Linked DNA regions of Homo sapiens: regions 2 and 3 are each linked to region 1. Evidence: promoter capture Hi-C in human tissues and cell types (Jung and others, 2019). All regions are on one chromosome and are shown on one strand. Each heading gives the region's core, a stretch centred on a gene start or on the middle of the fragment in contact. The rest is flanking DNA. Distances are from core to core; before and after follow the strand shown.

The links. Contacts are between HindIII fragments. The study calls those that stand out against the background at their distance.
Region 2: a contact is called between a fragment that was not itself captured here and the fragment with the promoter of GPSM2 in region 1, in 1 of the 25 tissues and cell types used here (mesenchymal stem cells).
Region 3: a fragment that was not itself captured here is called in contact with the fragment with the promoter of GPSM2 in region 1 in 2 of the 25 tissues and cell types used here (mesenchymal stem cells and pancreas).

Annotation. Positions count from the first base shown.
Region 1 is chr1:108,874,781-108,879,175 of GRCh38, forward strand. It overlaps GPSM2 (G protein signaling modulator 2), which reads left to right and starts at 2,205. Exons shown (of 15, transcript NM_013296.5): 1 at 2,205-2,448. RefSeq lists an enhancer at 1,861-1,960 and silencers at 2,041-2,440, 2,531-2,600. The HindIII fragment of the contact is 24,726 bases long and covers 1-4,395 here.
Region 2 is chr1:108,731,216-108,735,733 of GRCh38, forward strand. It overlaps FNDC7 (fibronectin type III domain containing 7), which reads left to right. Exons shown (of 13, transcript NM_001144937.3): 10 at 2,057-2,317. Among named protein-coding and RNA genes, the nearest start is that of STXBP3, 13 kb to the right of the region's middle. The HindIII fragment of the contact is 6,375 bases long and covers 1-4,518 here.
Region 3 is chr1:108,644,789-108,649,583 of GRCh38, forward strand. It overlaps HENMT1 (HEN methyltransferase 1), which reads right to left. Exons shown (of 8, transcript NM_001102592.2): 8 at 3,507-4,203. The coding sequence ends at 3,778. Among named protein-coding and RNA genes, the nearest start is that of HENMT1, 14 kb to the right of the region's middle. The HindIII fragment of the contact is 3,882 bases long and covers 267-4,148 here.

The DNA of each region.
Region 1 (4,395 bases), core at 955-3,454:
GGTGAGGGGGCTCATGCCTATAATCTCAGCACTTTGGGAGGCCAAGGCAGGAGGATCCTTTGAGCCCAGGAGTTCAAGACCAGCCTGGGCAACATAGTGAGACCTTTTCTCTACTGAAAAAATAAAAATAGCCAGACATAGTGTCAAGCTCCTGTGGTCCCAGCTACTGGGGTGTAGGGGAGGGGTGAGATCGGAGGATCACTTGGCCCTGGGAGGTTGAGGCTGCTGTGCAGTGATCTCCAGCCTGGGTGACAGAGGGAGGTCCTGTCTCTCTCTCTATATATATAAAATTTCCTTTGTGGCTTTCACAGTATCCATACTTTAAAAGAATTTATAATTAAGAAGGAATTAATACCTACCTCTGAAACAGTACAGCCAACCAATTCCATTGTTATTTACAAGAACCTGATATTAAAGATGGTTGTAACGATAATAGGTATCAAGTATGGAGCAGTTTCTATGTGTCAGGCCCTATGTCAACCACTTAACAACCTTACCTCACAGAAGCATCATAGCAACCCTTATTAGAAGAGGCTTTATTATGTTTTACAGGTGGGGAAACTAAGACTAAAGAAGATAACTCATTCAAGGTCAATCAGCAAGTAAGTAGCAGAATTGGAACTCAAACCCAGGTCTAGTTTGATGATAAAGCTGTTCCTTTAAGCAATTTGCCATAACATGCACCTAATGGGAAATGTTGCTTGGATCACTGGTTATGGCCATCATTCACGGAGATACTGAACCCGGAGTTTTCTTTAACATAGCCTTTACCCTGTAGAAACATTTAAACTTCATTTCAGAAGAGAAATATCTATTTGAAAAATAATCTAAGTAAATTCATCAGATGCTTTACCCCAGAGAGACTCTGGTCTTGGTATTTTGGTTTTTGTTGTTGTTTGAGACGGAGTCTCGCTCTGTCGCCGAGGCTGGAGTGCAGTGGCGCGATCTCGGCTCACTGCAACCTCCGCCTCCTGGGTTCAAGCAATTCTCCTGCCTCAGCCTCCCGAATAGCTGGGATTGCAGGCGCCCACCACCAGGCACGGCTAATTTTTGTATTTTTAGTAGAGACGGGGTTTCACCATTTTGACCAGGCTGGTCTCCAACTCAGGTGATCCCCCCGCCTCGGCCTCCCAAAGTTGCTGGTATTACAGATGTGAACCACCGCGCCCGGCCGGTATTTTGTGAAGAACAAACTATAAGGTGACTACTATTTTGGGGTCACCTTGACATGGAGGAGAGGTGAATGGAAATAAAACTTATTCTTCCCAGTGTCTTTAGAATGTAGGCGCTGAAACTGAGTGAAACTGAGTAAAACTGCCACCCAATTTTCCTGGGAACCAGCGATTCTGTAGTCAACAGAAGTTTGCTTTTCCAACAGCTGGAAACGCCAGGGTTGGGCACAGCCTCAAGAACTGAGGCTGCCTTGTTCAGACTTTCACACGGTCCCTCTGTTCCTTCCACAGAGGCCTCTTTTTCTTCTATATCCCGCATCTGCCGCTTGGGACACTCATTCTGTAGCGCAGCACCAAGTCTTCCAAAAAGGCGGCGCTGGTTTTGCGCTCCTTTTTTAAAGGGATCTAGGCCAGCCTCTATCTGAACTCTGTACGATGTTTTTTGTTTGTTTGTTTTGTTTTGTTTTTGAGATGGAATTTCGCTCTTGTTGCCCAGGCTGGAGTGCAATGGTGCGATCTCCACTCACGGCAACCTCCGCCTCCCGGATTCAAGCGATTCTCCTGCCTCAGCCTCCTGAGTAGCTGGGATTAAAGGCATGCGCCACCACTCCCAGCTAATTTTGTATTTTTAGTAGAGACGGGGTTTCTCCATGTTGGTCAGGCTGGTCTCGAACTCCCGACCTCAGGTGATCCGCCCGCCTCGGCCTCCCAAAGTGCTGGGATTATAGCCGTCCGTCACAGCGCCCGGCCAACTCTAGACAATATTTATTGCTCTACTTTTTAGTGTCTGAAGAAGAAAGAAGAGGACAGGAAAGAAACTTCAGTCTGAGGGTTGAGGACACGTCCCGGAGCAGAGGAGGACCAAGCTCCCAAGCCCCCTGTCACCTTGACACGCAGACGGTTCCCCAGGACTGCGAAGAGGGGGGCAACCAGCGCCCCGCCCCGCCCCGCTGCGCCGCCCGCCATTGGCCGGTCCGAAAGACGCGGGGCGTTGTCGGTTTGAATGAGAGCGCCTGGAGCCGGGGCGCAGGCGCAGAGGAGGGCGGTGTTGAGACCGGCGGAGCGGCGGGACCCCTAGGTGGCGGAGGGACGCTCCGGGAAAGCGAGGGGCGCTACGAGCTCTGGCCCACGTGACCTGCCGGGGGCGGGAGCAGGGGGCGCGCCGGCCTCCTGCGGTGCCCCTGCCTTGGGGAGGGGCCGTGACCACCCGTCTGTCGCCCGAGGCGGCCGCCGCTGCACCTTCACCGCGTACCCGGGACCCGCCCGCCCGCGGGAGGTGAGCGCTTCCGCGACGCGGGTTCTGAGGCGTTTGAGGGGCTCTCGGAGGGAGGTGACAGGGAGGGGTGCGTGTGCGTGCGTGTGGGGCTTCTGTGTCCAGAGGTCTGGGGGTGACGTCCTTTGTTTTGGGCAGGAGGCGGGCTGGGGGCTTGCGGGACCTGTGGGCGCTGCGGGGACGCGGCGTCGATGCTCAAGAAACCAGAAACTCGGCTTGAGGAGTTGCTGCTTTTTTGTCGGAAGGTCTTCAAATGAGAGTAAAGCGTTAAGAGCCTCACTCCTGAGTCTTTTTTTTTTTTTAAGATAAAAACTATACTAGAGTCCAGCGACTTCTTACCACTCTGAATGTGAGTAACAAATTGTGAATCAAAGCCCGAATCCCCGTGGAATTCATTCCGAGGCTGATTGCAATCACTTGGAGTCGGGCGCGTCCTACCTAAACCAGGCAGTTTATGGCAAATACCTGCCTTGACCGTGCTTAAATTAGTGAACTTTTGGGCACCAACTGGTCGATTTACCATAGAAATTGGTAGTTGCTGCAAAAAGAGTAAGTAAACATAAAACGTTAAGAAAACTCTTTCCTGAAATCTATAGAATACCTTCGAATAAAAAAAAATCTGTAATTTCCTTGTTTTAATAGTAACCAGTTAGAGCATTTGAACTAGTAGCATTTGAACTCTGTTAAAGAAAACGAGTAAGGATGGAAATTTTATTGGCCTTAATGCATAATTTAACCACACCGTAGAATTAAACGAAGTAGGTTCTTGGCTTTCCTTTCTATCGGGTTTGCATTGGAGCGTTCGTGGGGTGTGTTGGAAGTCAGCAGGACCAACAGAGCTGAGTTTTCAAGCTGCCACTTTAGAAGGGTGTACCGAAGATTTCTGGCCTGATAATAGCCGGTGTGATTGCTTCTGATAAATACCACTTTTGATTGGGTTCTCACTATTCAGGAGCAGCTTTAGTTGATTGTTTAGAAGTGAATAAACAACATTAAAAAGGGTAGATCACTGTTGGTTGACATGGTGTGTGTAAGGAGAGGGGGGCCTCAGGGATTAGGGGTGGTCTCACACCTACTTCTCTTTACAACTACCACGGAGTCGTTTTCGCAAGCTATTTCCCAGGCTATTACTTATAATTTAAGTATTGGAGCGGTTTCAAAGTAAAAAGTTGTGTGATGTTGTTGTAGAGGCATGTCTCCAAAATCCTCTCTGGCCAGATAAGCAGTTTAATTGTATTTTCTTACATTCTTAAATCAGATATTCGGTGTTACAAACATATTTTAATATAGATCTGAGACTTGCTTACTAGACTAATTAAAACAGTGATAAGATATAGTAGTTTTAAAAATGACCTTTTCATAAACATAAAATATTTCTAAGATCTATCTTTAGAAATTTGTAATTAGTTCTCTGGAATTTTAAAATGGAAAATCTGACATAGATTTAGGTTATTCTAAATTTATTTGAATATATATTAAATATGTCTATTTTATAATAACAGTTACTGTTATTACTACAGCACTATGTTGAGTACTTTTGTTATGTATCAGAGCCAGGTGCTGGGTCAGGTGCTTTATAAATCATGTCTGTAATTATCACAGCACATTTTAGGTAAGTGTCATTATGCCCACACCAACTGAGAGTTTAGCGTAAGATCATATAACTAATAAGTCACTGTGCCGAGATTCAAATCATGGCCTGATCCCAAAGCACATGCTGTATTGCTTCTGTGTGTCTGTTTAAATCTCTGCTGTGTCTCTGGATTCCATTTGTAGGGACAAGTTCTACTTTAAAGATGCCTTTAGGTGCTGTGTTTTGTTGTAGCTTCGCAGAAATATTTCAATCTTTCTGTTGGAACTATCTTGCTTCATTATTTTATAAATCATCTTATAAATCACATTATATTTTCAATATCTTCTTAATCATCTTTATACAAAACATAAGTGAAG
Region 2 (4,518 bases), core at 1,252-3,751, 140 kb before region 1:
AACGTAGCCTGGCAGAGTTTTCTGAAAGCTAGATCACACATTCTGTTTGGTTTGCATTTTTTTCTTCTCATTATTATTGTGCTACTACCTCTCTTTTCTAAGCTTCTTCAGCTGCTTCAATGGTTTCTTATTTCAACAGGCTAAGAGAGCAAAGACATCTGTCTACTGACAGTATTGTACCTTGTTCTTCACAAAGACCAAACCATTAGGGAATAGCAGGGGAAAGTAAAAGCAGTGCAAGGTTACCAAATCTCTTGCATGATTCTAATTCACTGAAGTGGCTGCTTGTAACACGGTTTTGATAAAACTCTTGAGGATGCTTCCTAGGCTTAAGGAGAAAAAGTACAATGATAAGTTACCTCTGCCTGGGGCATGGGATGGAAGAGTTGGAATATAATTTTGGCATCCTAGAGGTAGTAGAAAGAGTCTTAACTGGGAGTCAAAATTAGACATGGATTCTAATAAGCTGTGTTGCCTAATCTTCCCTGATTCTGTCTCCTCATTGAAAAAGACAGGAATAGTAATATTTTCCTTCGAAGTTGTTTTGAGAATCAAAATAAATCATAATGTGAGAACATTCAGAACATGCTGCACGTATGTCAGCTGGTATGTACTTTCTTTTGACCCATTATCTTGTATTAGATTTACTGCTTAAGTTCTCACCTTGATATCCAGTTCTCAGAATATGACCCATTGCTTATTCTTTTAAGAATAAATCAAGTAAGCCTGATTATAATAACTTTTAAAAATTATACAGTAGGATCTTTAACTTAGTTACTAAGGAATCCATTTGATGCCCTTATTGGCACCTAATGTGTGGCTTGCTCAAGGTATTTAGAAAAGGAAAAAAATACTAATCAGTGGCCTGGCGCGGTGGCTCATGCCTGTAATCCCAGCACTTTGGGAGGCCGAGGCAGGCGGATCACGAGGTCAGGAGATCAAGACCATCCTGGATAACATGGTGAAACCCCGTCTCTACTAAAAATACAAAAAAATAGCCAGGCGTGGTGGCGGGCGCCTGTAGTCCCAGCTACTCGGGAGGCTGAGGCCGGAGAATGGCGTGAACCCGGGAGGCGGAGTTTGCAGTGAGCCGACCAGCCTGGGCAACAGAGCGAGACTCCGTCTCAAAAAAAAAAAAAAAAAAAATACTAATCAGCTACCATGGATGAAGCGTGGACCAGCAAACTTGGTCACTGGCATGTTGTATAAATGGCTGCACCTAAAGTGTCATACTACTCATCTCGGCAAAATTGGTTCTTCAATTAAGGCTGAATGCAGTTAATTATATTTAAGTTTAATGCCACCAAAATCAAATAAAACTAGGGCATTATGAGGGATCTTGACAAGGATTCTGTGCCTTTGACTCACAGTTTGAATCATGTACAATATGTATCTGCCAATTTTTGGACCTTTCTGACTCACCATTGTTCTGTATTAAAAATTCATACTGCACACCACCTTCACACATGGATTTCTCTCTCTCTCTCTTTCTTTCTTTCCCTCCCTCCCTCTCTTTTCTCTTTTTTCTTTCTTTCTTTCTGTCTGTCTTTCTTTCTTTTTCTTTCTTTTTTTTAGACAGGATCTCGCTCTGTCACCTAGGCTGGAGTGAGTGCTGTGGCACAATCATAGCTCACAGCAGCCTTGAACTCCTGGCCTTAAGCCATCCTCCTGCCTCATCCTCCCAAGGGGACCACAGGTGTGCACCACCACAACTGGCTAATTTTTTTTTTTTTTTTTTTGTAGAGTCAGGGTCTCCCTATGTTGCCTAGGCTGGTCTCAAACTCCTGGGCTTAAGCGATCCTCCTGCCTTGGCCTCCCAAAGTACTCAGATTATAGGCATAAGCCATCATGCCCAGCCACCCATGGATTTCTGATTATGTGGCCCACCATGGAAATAACTCGAGTACCCCTTCAAATCTTGCTCTGATCTAACCAGTAATTAATCCTGTTACTTAGACTAGTTTGCTTATATTTTTTCCCTGCAGTAATCAAGGCCATTTTTGGATGATGGTGGAATAAAACAAGTGATTTTGTGTTTGTTATTTTTATTGCCTAGGTGCCTGCTGCCCTTTGGGGGTGAAATTATATAGGCTGGGCCCTAATGGCATCCGGATCTACTGGCAAGCCTCCAGGGGCTCTGCCAATTACAGCACTGACCTCTATGGCTCCAAAGGCATTTTCACGTGCACCCCGAGTGCTGGCCTCAGTTTCTGTGATGTCACTGAGATACCCTGTGGGGATGTATACACTGTGATGGTCTCACCAGTTGCTAAAACAGGATTGAAGCTTACTTTCTGTCCAAAAAAAATATATTCAGGTAAAGCAAGTTATGACAGTTTATCTAAAACTAACCCTGAACTCATATCTGTGAATTAAGATGCAATCAAACTTATTTACTATGTATGAAGGGCACAGAGGGTATAAAATTTCTTTCTTTTTTTTTTTTTTTTTTTTTGAGACAGTCTCACTCTGTCGCCCAGGCTGGAGTGCAATGGCATGATCTTGGCTCACTGCAACCTCCACCTCCCAGGGTCAAGCAATTCTCCTGCCTCAGCCTCCCAAGTAGCTGCGATTACAGGCACCTGGCATCATACCTGAGTAATTTTTGTATTTTTGTAGAGACGGGGCTTCAGCATATTGGCCAGGCTGGTCATGAACTCCTGACCTCAGGTGATCCTCCTGCCTCAGCCTCCCAAAGTGCTGGGATTACAGGCATGAACCACTGCACCCAGTCAAGGGTATAAAATTTCTACACAGCACAGGCAGATTCTGGCTGTGGAAGACCCCAAGATTCTTTGGAATTGTGATGCTTTATTTAATTTAGAGATTATCTTCTCTGTCCCACTCTTCCCCTTCCTAAAAAGGACTAGATGCTTGCTGCTTAATTAGTAAAGCAAATTTAAGATAATTTTCTGCTTTGAGATTTAGGGATAGATTTTTTAACATAGTCTTGCTGATAATGATAGACATCCTGGGATGTTGGAAATTAGGAAACTTGAACTTTTATTTGCACAGACTGAGAATTATGACTGAGGAAAAGTTAGAGGATCAGAAAAAATAAATTTATAAATCACAAGCTAGGCTTGGCAATATGAGTGGGCAGACAATCTGTGATCACAAAGCATGGCTGTCAGCAACTACCATCTCACCAGAGCTGGCAGGAAAACATTAGCAATTCTCCGCTCTGTGTTCCAGCACCTTCTGCTACCTTGCCCAGGGCACAGTCATATATTTTTCATGTATTCCTAGAAGAAAAGAGATGATGAAGCCCTAGAATTTTGCAGGTGAACACAGAAAAAAAGAATAAATATTGGCTCACAAGCCCTTACTGATAGCCAGAATCTAAAATTTTGAATGATATGTAGGTGACAGGAGGTTCAGGATGGCCCTTGGTGATGGAAGGAGGACAGTTCCTCCCAAGGGGCTGTTCTCATTGTCCCTGGCTGTCATGCTCTGATTCCTTGTTTTTCCATTATTTGGTCCACAGGACAAGCTGGCCCAAAGCATAGCCCTATGGGAAGGGACAGGAATAGGTTCCTGGTGTCAGGATGAGCTCTTAGGAAGATGAGTCTACAGCTCAATAACAATACTGCATCATAACTGCATAATATTTTATAATTTATCCAGTGGTTTCATATCACAAATCTCATCAAATGCTCAAAATATGCTATGCTATAGGCTCAACATATTTCATTATCTCCACTTTGTAAATGAGAAAACTGAAGCTCAGAGGCTCCCAAATCTCTATCTACAACTCTTCTCTTCTCCTGACCCCTAAGTCCGTATTCAAATTTGATACCTCCACCTGGAGGTGCCCAGGCATTTCAAACCCCTCAGGGGCAAAAGGAACTCCTGATCCTCTGCTGTTTCTGATCTTCCTCCCATCGTCCTTGTTTCAGGTACATTAGCTAAAAACCCTGGAGTCAGCTTCTGTCTCCCTCACCCTCCATATCTAAGTAATCTCGAATTCTCGTCCTGGTCACCTTCATGATGGTTCCTAAATCCCGAGTCTTCTCTTCATTCCCACAGCTACTGCTATGCCTCAGGCCCTCACCACCTCTCCCCTAGACTACTGCACCAGTCCCATCTCCCTGTCCTCACTCCAGCCTCTGTAATGCTACCAGAGTTATCATTCCAGGACACTGGTCCAATTGTGTTACTTTTATGCTGCCACATCTTCAAAACTTTTCCATTTCCCCATAAGATAACATTCAATCCTCTGGGCATGGTGTTCACAGTCCCTTATAATCTGTCCCCTGTCTACTTATACCTGCACTGTTCAATAGAAATTTAATATGCACCATGCATGAAAAATTAAATTTTCTAGTAGCCATATTAAAAAAGTAAAAAGAGGTGAAATTAATTTCATAATATATTTTAGTTAACCCAATATATCCAAAATATTATCATTTCAACATCTAATCAATATAAAAATTATTAATAGATATTTTGTACATTTTTCATACTGTCTTTGAAATCTGGTGTGTCTTTTGTACTTATAGTACATTTAGTTCAAAC
Region 3 (4,795 bases), core at 958-3,457, 230 kb before region 1:
TCCCTAAAATGTATAAAACCAAGATGTGCCCCGACCACCCTGAGTACATGTTGTCAGGACCTCCTGAGACTGTGTCATGGGAGCGTGTCCTCAACCTTGGCAAAATAAACTTTCTAAATTAGCTGAGACCTGTCTCAAATGTTCGAGGTTCACAAATATAATGATAAGCCATGTTTGCTGTAGTTAGCACCTAGCATCCTTCATGAAGGCAGAAACCCACAGTTCTCAGTCTTCAAAAGACCACATTGCCACTGCTGACACTGCTCAGTCCCTGACTTCCTGTCAACTGCTCGACACACAGTCTCCACAGGACCAGGCATAACGAGATAAAGATTTAATGTTCTTGGCACCCAAACTCTAGTTGAAGAAATTGCCTTTATTTGGAGTTCTCCCTTGATAACCGCTGGCAGAACTGAGGGCTGAGAACACTTGAAGGGAGCTGAACTGCTGGGCGTGCCGTGGGGCAGCAGGTTGGCAGTCACAGGAAAGGAGGGGAGGGGGTGGGGCAAGCGAGGGCAGCTGGGGAAGGTGAGCTGGGAGCTGCTGCCAGATGAGAAGGAGGGTAAGGTGGGATGTGTTTGAGGAGCCTCGGAGCAGCATAGAAGGGGCTGAGATTCACATCTCAGTTGTATGGAACTGAACTTGAAGGCAGGCAGTGCTGTGATAACGTAAGCTTTTAGGAAATCATAGAAGTCTCAGAGTTTTGGAGTTACCCAGACTATGGAAATAGGAGTTGGAGGCAAATTATATTCAGATCTCAAGGGCCAGGGAGGTTTCAATACCTGGTAGTGCAGATTTCGTATCTAGTCTGGGAGGTGGGCAGTGGCAGTGAGAACCTTCTCTCAAAGAAGACTGCAGATTAAACTCTGTCTCCTGCTCAGCGCACTTGTTTTCACATTGTCTGTGGTGGCTTTGACTCAAGCAGAGTTGAATAGTTGTGATAGAGACTGGATCACCTGCAAAGATTTACTGTCTAGCCCCAAAAGCACGTCTGGCAACCCCTGACCTCAAGTATTAATGAGCCTTTCAGTGTGCAAAGAAAGGCCTGTATCCAGGTTGGGGGAAAGACAAACTTCTCAAGAAGAACGTAGGTACAGAAGCCGCAGAGAGAGCGGGAAGGCCATGGGGAAGAGCAGCTCCAGCCCCCATGGCAGTCATGAGCACTTAAAATGTTTCCACATGGGGGCTCCAGTGATTAGGCTCGAACAAAGTTAACTGATTAACTTTCAAGAAAGATCAGAGAAACGGCTGGTCTTGGCTAGAAACCTTGGCTCTACCACAGAAGAGCAATGATGAGAAGGGAACTCTAGAGTGAAAACTGCAGAGGCCTAGAAAGGTGAGGACGGACAGAGGGCCTTTGAGAGCAGGAATAGGGTGGGGCTACAAATCTCTTGTTCATGTGCACCTTTGAGCATTCATGGGGGAAGTCTGATAGCAGTATTAGAAATTCAAGGAAAAAACAGCTGGTTTACCAATGTAATGTGATTAAAAGACGGTTCTCATCAGAATCCCTCAATTCTCTCCCCCCTCACCAAATCCCCTTCCCATCTGCTTAATTATTAACCCTTGGAAACTCAGCTTGAGAATTACTCCCCCCAGCCCTCTCCCAGGCACCAACTCTGCATCTCCATAGCCCCCATTCCAGACCGCTCAGGATGTCCTAGCTGTGGCACAGATGGTTATTTGCCAGTGTTCCTTCTCCCCTTGTTCCTTGGCAGACCAAGTGGACACATGACCTCCCAGAATAAAAACTGTATTTCGCAGCTGATACGGTTTGGATCTGTGTCCCCATTCAAATCTCATGTCAAACTGTAATCCCTGATATTGAAGGAGGGGCCTGCTGGGAAGTGATCATGGGGGTGGGTCCTTTGTGAATGGTTTCGCACCATCCCCTTAGTGCTGTTCTCGTGACAGAGTCCGCCCAAGACCTGCTTAAACGTGTTCAGCACCACCCCTCGCTCCGCCTTGCTCCTGTTCCCACCATGTGAGATGCCTCGCCCCGCCCCAACCCTTTGCCTTCTGCCATTACTGGAAGTTTCCTGAGGCCTCCCCAGAAGCAGAAGCTGCTATGCTTCCTGTACACTCTGTGGAACCATGAGCCAATAAACCTCTTTATTACCCAGTCTCTGCTATTTCTTTACAGCAATGCAAGAACAGACTAATATATCAGCTTCCCTTTGTGTGGCCTGAAGACCACATTCTGATCAACAGGAAGTAAGCAGTCGTGTTGCGTAACAACCCACAGCAAGCTTTACCAGACAGCTTGTGTGTGCCCTTTGTCCCTTCTCTTCTTTCTGCTGTTTCAGAATATGAAAGTAGTAGCCAGAGCTCAAATCTCTCTCTCTGTCCCTGGATGGCATACTAAGTAGCCACAACATGCAAGATGGACGTCTGGGTCCCAAAAGTGGCAGAGCTCCCATGCCTGGGGCTTACCTCTGGACTCCTGTGCCTAAGAAATGCCTCTCATTTAAACTACTGTTTTCCCCCATGAGGTGAAGCTATGTTTCTTTCTCCCATTAGTACTACCACCCCAATTCCAACCAGAGAAGTACTACCACCCCAATTCCATCCTCAGAAGAGGGTGCTCAAAAAACAATCCCAGCACTTTGGGAAGCTGAGGCAGGAGGACCACTTGAGCCCAGAAGTTCAAGACCAGTCTGGGCAACATAGTGAGACCCTATCTCTACAAATTTTTAATTAGCTGGGCATGGTGGTACATGCCAGTAGTTCAAGCTACTGGTGGGGAGGAGGTGAGGTGGGAGGATTATTTTAGCCCAGAGGCTGAGGCTACAATGAGCCATGATTGTGCCACTGCACTCCAGCCTGGGTAACAGAACAAGACCCTGTCTCAAAAAAACAACAACAACAACAACAAAACATGGACAGCAATTACATCATGAAGAGGCTTCTATGCCCTCCAACCACCTGCATTCCTGTTTTATTGATGTTCTAGGCTAAATATTACACAGGTTAGAATTTGGCATTAAGGAGATAGAGAATCCCAGAAAAATTTTAAAGCTACTCTTACCCCAAAGAAAAGGTTTTGAACACTATATTTGATAACTTTCTCTTAAATTTTTAATATCACAATTGATATGGTTTGTATTTCTGTCCTTGCCCAAATCTCATGTCAAATTGTAATCCCCAATATTGGAGGAGGGGGCTGGTGGGAGGTGATTGGGTTATGAGGGCGGATTTCCCCCTTGCTATTCTTGTTATTAAACCTGGTTGTTTAAAAGTGTGTAGACCTCCCCAAGCTCTCTTCCTCCGGCTCTAGCTATATAAGACGTGCCTGCTTCCCCTTCGCCTTCCACCAAGACTGTAAGTTTCCTGAGGCCTCCCCAGCTTCCTGCATGCTTCCTGTGCAGCCTGCAGAACTGTAAGTCAATTAAACCTCTTTTCTTTATAAATTACCCAGTCTCAGGTAGTTCTTCACAGCAATGTGAGAACAGACTAACAACAATCAACTCATGGCTTTAACACAAAAAAAATAGGTAAGTTCAAAATTAACATATTACCACATCCAACTTCTTTATTCTTGAGAAAACAAAAAAGTCCAAAATCAAAGGAAAGCACCCGTTTTAAACCCTCATATCTTTCTCAGGGCTCACTGCAGTCTGGCCATATCTCAAGCAGGTCTGTCCAATGGCTTGGAACATAGACTTTTGCAGTGAAACTTTAAAAACATTACTTGAATTAGGATTACACAAAAAAAACTAAATTCTAAGTGAGCACAACTATCGCTGAGACCCTGAAATTTCAGGAAATAAACATGGTTCAAAACTCAAACTGTTCATCAAAATAATTACGCAGGTCAGCCACCACTGCAGAACCATCACTGCTCAGAGGAATTGAGTCAGCAATGACTGATCTCATCATCTCTTCATTAGCACATAAGCGGTTCAACTTGGGATACGCAAGGAGTCTCTGCAGAGGTACGAAAAATTTATCTCCAACACAGAAGGGTGTGGGAGAGTTCTCTATCTTGGCCTTCTCAACCTCTGTGAAGACTGGTCCAAAGCATGGGACAGGGGCCTTTGAGCCACCAATGTCTTTGGGCTTATCACCCCGTTCCCCAGCCTGTTCTTTCCGCCTTGGCAGGTGGCTCACTCTTAAGCTTTCCACTTGTTGGGACACCTCATTAACCAACACAAGTTTAAAGAACCTTTCCTGCTGTAAGCTTGGGTATGAGGTGGTAAAAACCTGAAGGGAAAAAACAAAACACTTACAAGTGTATAATAATATAAACATACATAAATTTTCAAAGCCATCAATAACTTTTTTGCCATGTAAGAATAAATGTACATATTGAATATATGTCAGATCCTACTAATCGTAAATGCCTCAGTTATAATGGGAATCAAATCACTGACACATAGAAATTAACTATCCGATTTGCTTTCTAATGCTAATGCCCAATGTCTCCCAGCCAGGTTTCTACCAAGTCACATGAACCCAGTATTTCTACTTGATATTACAGGGGCAAGGGCAAAAAAAAATGAAAAATGGTTCAGTTAAAAGGGAAAACGTGGGTAAGTGCAGTGACTCACACCTGTAATCTCAGCATTTTAGGAAGATGGGGCAGGAGGATTGCTTGAGGATGGAAGTTCAAGACCAGCCTGGGCAACATAGTGAGACCCTGTCTCTACGGAAAAAAAAACAAAAAACAAAACAAAAAAAAGCTGAGCATGGTGGTGCACGCCTGTCGTCCTAGCTACTTAGGAGGCTCAAGTGGGAGGATCGTTTGTGCCCAGGAATTCAAGGTTACAGTGAGCCATGATTGTGCCGGTGCACT